2 separate regions of the Homo sapiens genome follow, and region 1 is linked to region 2. Evidence: promoter capture Hi-C in human tissues and cell types (Jung and others, 2019). All regions are on one chromosome and are shown on one strand. Each heading gives the region's core, a stretch centred on a gene start or on the middle of the fragment in contact. The rest is flanking DNA. Distances are from core to core; before and after follow the strand shown.

Region 1 (3,015 bases), core at 21-2,520, 62 kb before region 2:
AGCTGCTGTGACTACACAGATCCAAAAACAGATGTGAGCTGTCTGCTCAGAAGGCAGAATGCATGGCTGTTCTTGCAGGTCTGGCCAAGACTGCCCTTGATGCAACTTGCCCTATTTTTAGTCATTCTTGGGCTGTTGTCAACGGCTAAGCATTTGGTCAGCCACTTGGAAAACTACAGATTCCAGATGAACAGCATCCCGTTTGCAGGTCACAAACTGTGGAAACAAATCGTGACTGCTGAGAGAAACATCTGGGTCACTCACATAGATGGAAATGATCAAGGCCCCTTCTCTGATGAGACCGATTAGAGCCAAGCTGCCGGTGGAGCCTGCACTAAGCAGATGGCCACGTTGCTCTCTGGACCCATCGCTGTGCTGGATGTGGGAACGCACCCACCACTGTGGATGGCACAACGTGCAGGACTCCATGTTTATGATGCGGGGGCTCCCACTGGAGCTCCTGCCACAAGTTGACCTACTTGTCTCACAATGGTGTGGCCTCGTGGCAGGGATGCTTTCCCTGCTGCCGCCCACAGCCTGACCTTTGGGCCCTTCATGGGACTATGGTGGTGCCCTGCTACTCTTGACACCTTTTCAGGTGGTGGTGTTATTGTTCTAGTTCCATTAACCAACTCTGGCCACATCATTGTGGCCCTTGAAGATAATCTTTGCCATATTTTCAGCTCTGTGAACCACCAGCAAATAGCTACTTGATGGCCCTTTCTCTCCTTACCACCCACAGGCATCTGATGTTGTTGATCATTGGAGCAGCCTCCTAAAAACTTGATTTAAAAGATTTCTGACCGTATTCCTGGTCCACACTCCTTAGCCAGGTAGTTTGGTCATGTACGTGGCTCATTATTGACTGAAATGCCATTATAGGCCACACTAATAAAAGACACAAAGTTGACTTAAACAATTGGAAAAACATAATACGTTCTTGATAGGAGGACTTAATTCCTTAAGATGTAATTTCCCCCTTACTATATAAATTTGATGCAATTCCATTAAAAACGCTGATTTTGCCCTCTGGAGCTAGATTATAGGGTTTGTATTTTAAAAAAAATTAATAGGCTAGGCAAGGTGGCTCATGTTTATAATCCCAGCACTTTGGGAGGCCAAGGCAGGTGGATCACTTGAAGTCAGGAGTTCAAGATCAGCCTGGCCAACATGGCTAAACCTTGTCCCTACTGAAAATACAAAAATTAGCTGGGCGTGGTGGTGCACGCCTATAACCCCAGACACTTGGGAGGCTGAGGCAGGAGAATCGCTTGAGCCTGGGAGGCAGAGCCTGCAGTGAGCCAGGATCATGCCACTGCACTCCATCCTAGACGACAGAACGAGACTCTGTCTCAAAAAATAAATGAATAAATAAGTAAAATTAATAAACAAGACTATCAAAGAAAATTTTGGAAAAAGCGCAATGTGGGAGGCTAATCCCATCAGTTATTTAAAACATTATAAAACTTCTATATTCAAAGCTTCATGGTATTGATATGTGATAGAAAAACAGGCCAAAGTTCGCATTTGAATAGCACAACTGGAAACAGACATATATGGTTATGGAAGTTTAATAAATAGTGAAGGTATTATCTCAAGTCATGGGGAAGTTTTGAATTATTTCATAAATAATATTGAGCTATGTGGGAAAAAATACACAGGAATAAATTCCAAATGGATGAAATCTAAATGTAAATAATGTAGCTATAAGTACTAGAAGGCATGTGTTAATTTCTTTATGACTTGAGAATTAAGAAAACTTTTTAAACCATCATTAAAAATCCAAAACCAATGTCTAAAAGATGTACAAATTTTGGCTGAGCATGGTGGCTTACACCTGTAATCCGAACACTTTTGGAGACCAAGGCAGGAGAATCCACTGAGCCCAGAAGCTGGAGACCAGCCTGGGCAACATGGCAAGACCTTATCTCTACTAAAAATTATAAAATTAGCCAGGAGTGGTGGCATGCACCCATAGTCCCAGCTACTCAGGAGGCTGACACAAGAGGATTGCTTGAGCCGAGGAGTTTGAAGTTGCAGTGAGCTATGATTTACCCCACTGCACTCCAGTCTAGGTAATGGAGCAAGACTCTGTCTCAAAAACAGGTATAAATTTGACCACATAAAATTTAAATAATACTGTATGACAAAAAATTCAGATGCAAGGCTGGGTGCAGTGGCTCACGCCTGTAATTGCAGCACTTTGGGAGGCCGAGGAGGGTGGATCACCTGAGGTCAGGAGTTCAAGACCAGCCTGGCCAACACGGTGAAACCCCATCTCTACTCAAAATACAAAAATTAGCCGGGTGTGGTGGCACACACCTGTAATCCCGGCTACTCAGCAGTCTGAGACAGAAGAATGGCTTAAACCCAGGAGGTGGAGATTGCAGTGAGCCAAGATCGTGCCACCGCACTCCTGCCTGGGTGACAGAGTGAGATTCCATCTAAAAAAAATTCAGATGCAAGATCACAAGATAAATTAACAAACTAGGAAAAGATATTTGCAATTTAAGTCTCTGATAAAGGGCTAGATCTCTGTTCAAGGTGAGATTTGGGTGGGGACACAGAGCCAAACCATATCAGTCTCTGAAAAGTTGTTTAAAAAATGTACATCAAGACCATCCTGGCTAACACGGTGAAACCCCGTCTCTACTAAAAATACAAAAAATTAGCCAGGCGTGGTGGCGGGTGCCTGTAGTCCCAGCTACTCGGGAGGCTGAGGCAGGAGAATGGCGTGAACCCAGGAGGTGGAGGTTGCAGTGAGCCCAGATCGCACCACTGCACTCCAGCCTGGGTGACAGAACGAGACTCAGTCTCAAAAAAAAAAAAAAAAAGTACAAATTAACTTACAGTAAACAATGTACAAAAATATAGAGTTCAAAGAAAAATAAAAATGGCCTTAAACATATGAAAAAATGCTCAATTGCATGCATGTAAAATAAATGTAAGTCAAATTACATTGAGATTTCATTTTAATCTGTTTTTTTTTTTTTTTTCCAAGACGGAGTTTCGCCC
Region 2 (2,953 bases), core at 325-2,824:
AGCTCACTGAATCCTCGAACTCCTGAGCTCAAGCGATCCTCTCGCCTCAGCCTCTTGAGTAGGTGGGACTACAGACGCTCACCACCACGCCCGCTTATTATTTTTAAATGTTTTTGTAGAGACGAGGGTCTCCCTATGTTTCGCAGGCTGGTCTTGAACTCCCGGGCTCAAGCGATACCCCCTGCCTTGGCCTCCCAAACCGTTGGGATCCCAAGGCGTTTGCCACCTCTCCCGGTCTGCTTTACTTCTTTTCAGACTTCACGATGCACAGTGTGTTCTTCACGGCAGCTGCACACATGCTGGTTTTCTTCAGAAACACGGAAAATGCCCCATAATGCAATCCCCAAGCAACCTGCTCTAGGTCATCTGGGTTTGTTTTTTTGAGACAGAGTCTTGCTCTGTCCCCCAGGCAGGAGTGCAGCGGCGCGATCTCGGCTCACTGCAGCCTCTGCCTCCCGGGTTCAAGAGATTCTCCAGCCTCAGCCTCCCGAGTAGCTGAGATTACAGGCGTCCGCCACCGCGCCCAGCTAATTTTAGTAGAGACGGGGTTTCACCATGTTGGCCAGGCTGGTTTTGAACTCCTGACCTCAGGTGATCCACCCGCCTCGGCCTCCCATGGTGCTGGGGTCAGGCGTGAGCCACCGTGCCAGGCCACTGTCGTCTGGGTTTTCATCTCTGGCTTCAGGTTCAGAGAGGGCAGGGTTTGAAGCCTGGCCCGGCCTCAGTGCCCTCAATGGCGATGGTGAAGATGACCGGCTAGAGGTGCTGCGCCCACGAAACGCCAGCTCTAGTGGCGTCCGGAGCGCCGGCTCCACCGGCTAGGCGGTCGGCGGAGTTCTAGGACGACAACTACTCACAAGGGCTGGGCGATCACCTCCCACGCCACGGGACGGAGACGCCACAGCCCCTTCAACTTTCAGTTACAAACGTTCGTGCCCTGTTACGTCCACAGCATTAAGCTGGCTGTCGTGGGGCAAACAAAAACGTTGAGTCCGAGTCTTACGGGGGGTCGGGTCAACAACCCCAGCAAACATGGAGAGAAAATTCAAAGCGGGTCTCACGGGCGTGCGGGGCTCGGCGGCGCTCGGGGCACGGGATCCGTTCTCTCCGCAAATGCGCGCTGCCGGGGCTGCGCCGCGGGCTGCCCCGGTCGACCCCTCTCAACTCCGAGGCTACTTCGAGCCAGTCACCCGGGACTGGCTGACGTGGTCCAGGTTGGCCCCGTCCGGCTCTCCCCGCCCGTACCAACCCCACATTCCGCCCTCCTACCCGGCAAAGCGGACGAAGCCCCCACCGGCTGGTGCCCGCGGGCACCGAACTTAGCGGAACGCCTCCCGGCTCGGACCAGACGCCCCTGAGGAGTGACGCCCGCGAGCCTCAAACGTCTCAGGCGGGCCTGCCGGGTGCTCTCCCCGTCTCCCAGGAAGCCGCCCGTCAGCCGGCGGCGCCAACCGCCACCGCCGCACTTACCCGGGAAGGCAAAAGTGGCCGCGGGCACCCAACCGCCGTCACTCCCTTCAGGGAGCTGACTAGCGCGCTCGAAGCGACCGCCTCGCCTGCCCCGCCACAGCGTTCGGCTACGACGCACGCGCGCGCAGGCCACGCCCCCCGGGTGCGCGGGCCGGGCCGCAGAGCACGCCGGGAGCGTGGGTCTCCCAGCCCGCCACATCCCAGGGCTGTACGCGCGGACTAGCGGAGCTAGGGGAAGGTGCCAGGGTGGCCGCCGCCTCAGTAGCACGCGGACGGCTGGAAAGTCAGCCCCCGTTTCCGCCTCACCCAGGATTGCTCCACTCGGGGCCTTTCCGCATCCCAGCCACCACTCCATTCCGAGGCGCGATCAGCTCTGACCAGTCTTCCTCACACCCATAGTCGATTCGTTACTCCCGTTAAGGTCAAACGCTGACAGAAACCAGCCGCTTCGCACACTTCTACATGGGGTCAAGCCCCCTGTTATCTTTGCGGGGATGATTGTAACAATCACTTAAATGGTCGCTTCGTACCATCTTGCCCCCGCCTGGGCCTTGTCGGCGACGCCGCAGCCACGTGGATGCTGTGGAAGCCTGTCCCCTGGATCTTCCAAAGGCTCCGCGCTCATTGCCACAGCCAGCGGCCGGCAGTGGCCTAGGCTGTTGCACGCGATCGGTCCCCCACATCTCCCCTCTCCATCTGGCTCCTTTCCCTGGAAGCCCAGGGCAGCCCACACTTCGCTGTCCTCACCCCCACTCACCAGGCGGGACCCCACGACGACCGGCTTTTGTCCTGGCTGCTCCCTCCCAGCGTGGGCCGCGTCTCCTCGGGGTCGACAGGGCGCGTGGTTTTCACAGCGAGGCCTCCCCTGATCACCTCCCCGCTCTTCCTGTCCTTCCCCGGTCACCTCACGAGCTATGGATGTATCTGTGTCTCCTCACTGCGCTATAAGCTCCCAGGTGAAGAAAGGGTTGCTTTTTGTAAATTTTTGTTTTAACCGTGAACCTCTTGTGTATGAATAATGCTCAGAAAAAAAAAAATTTCTTAAATGAATGAATCTTCCCCAAGCCCAGTGCAGTTGGCACCTGCCCTCTTTTCTGTCACGGTACATACAAGGAAATACATTCCACAAAACCACATAGTCGCTGTCATTTATCACAAGTGTTTCCCCAAATTACAAAGTCTTAATACTTCTTTGTCTCCTAATTTTTTAGCTGTGTTTTTAAAAAACATTTCTTTACATGCCATAAAATTCACTCATTTGAAGTGTACCATTCAATCATTTTCAGTAATTTTAAAACCATTTGCAACCATCACTATAATTTAAGAACATTTCCATTATCCCCCTGAAAAGTATTTGCACAGTTATAGTTGAGGTAGGAGATCAGCAGGACTTTCCAAGCACTGATCACCACCTGCTGAGCAAAACAGGATCTGGTCAGAACAGGATGCCCTAAAAAAACGGCCAAAACTGCCCTAAAGAAAC

Evidence for each region. Contacts are between HindIII fragments. The study calls those that stand out against the background at their distance.
Region 1: a fragment that was not itself captured here is called in contact with the fragment with the promoter of TEX30 in region 2 in 1 of the 25 tissues and cell types used here (IMR-90 fibroblasts).

The regions. Positions count from the first base shown.
Region 1 is chr13:102,710,256-102,713,270 of GRCh38, forward strand. No RefSeq gene overlaps it. Among named protein-coding and RNA genes, the nearest start is that of METTL21C, 17 kb to the left of the region's middle. The HindIII fragment of the contact is 5,904 bases long and covers 1-3,015 here.
Region 2 is chr13:102,772,212-102,775,164 of GRCh38, forward strand. It overlaps TEX30 (testis expressed 30), which reads right to left and starts at 1,575. Exons shown (of 6, transcript NM_138779.5): 1 at 1,471-1,575. RefSeq lists enhancers at 1,330-2,007, 2,008-2,685 and a silencer at 1,408-1,747. The HindIII fragment of the contact is 8,936 bases long and covers 1-2,953 here.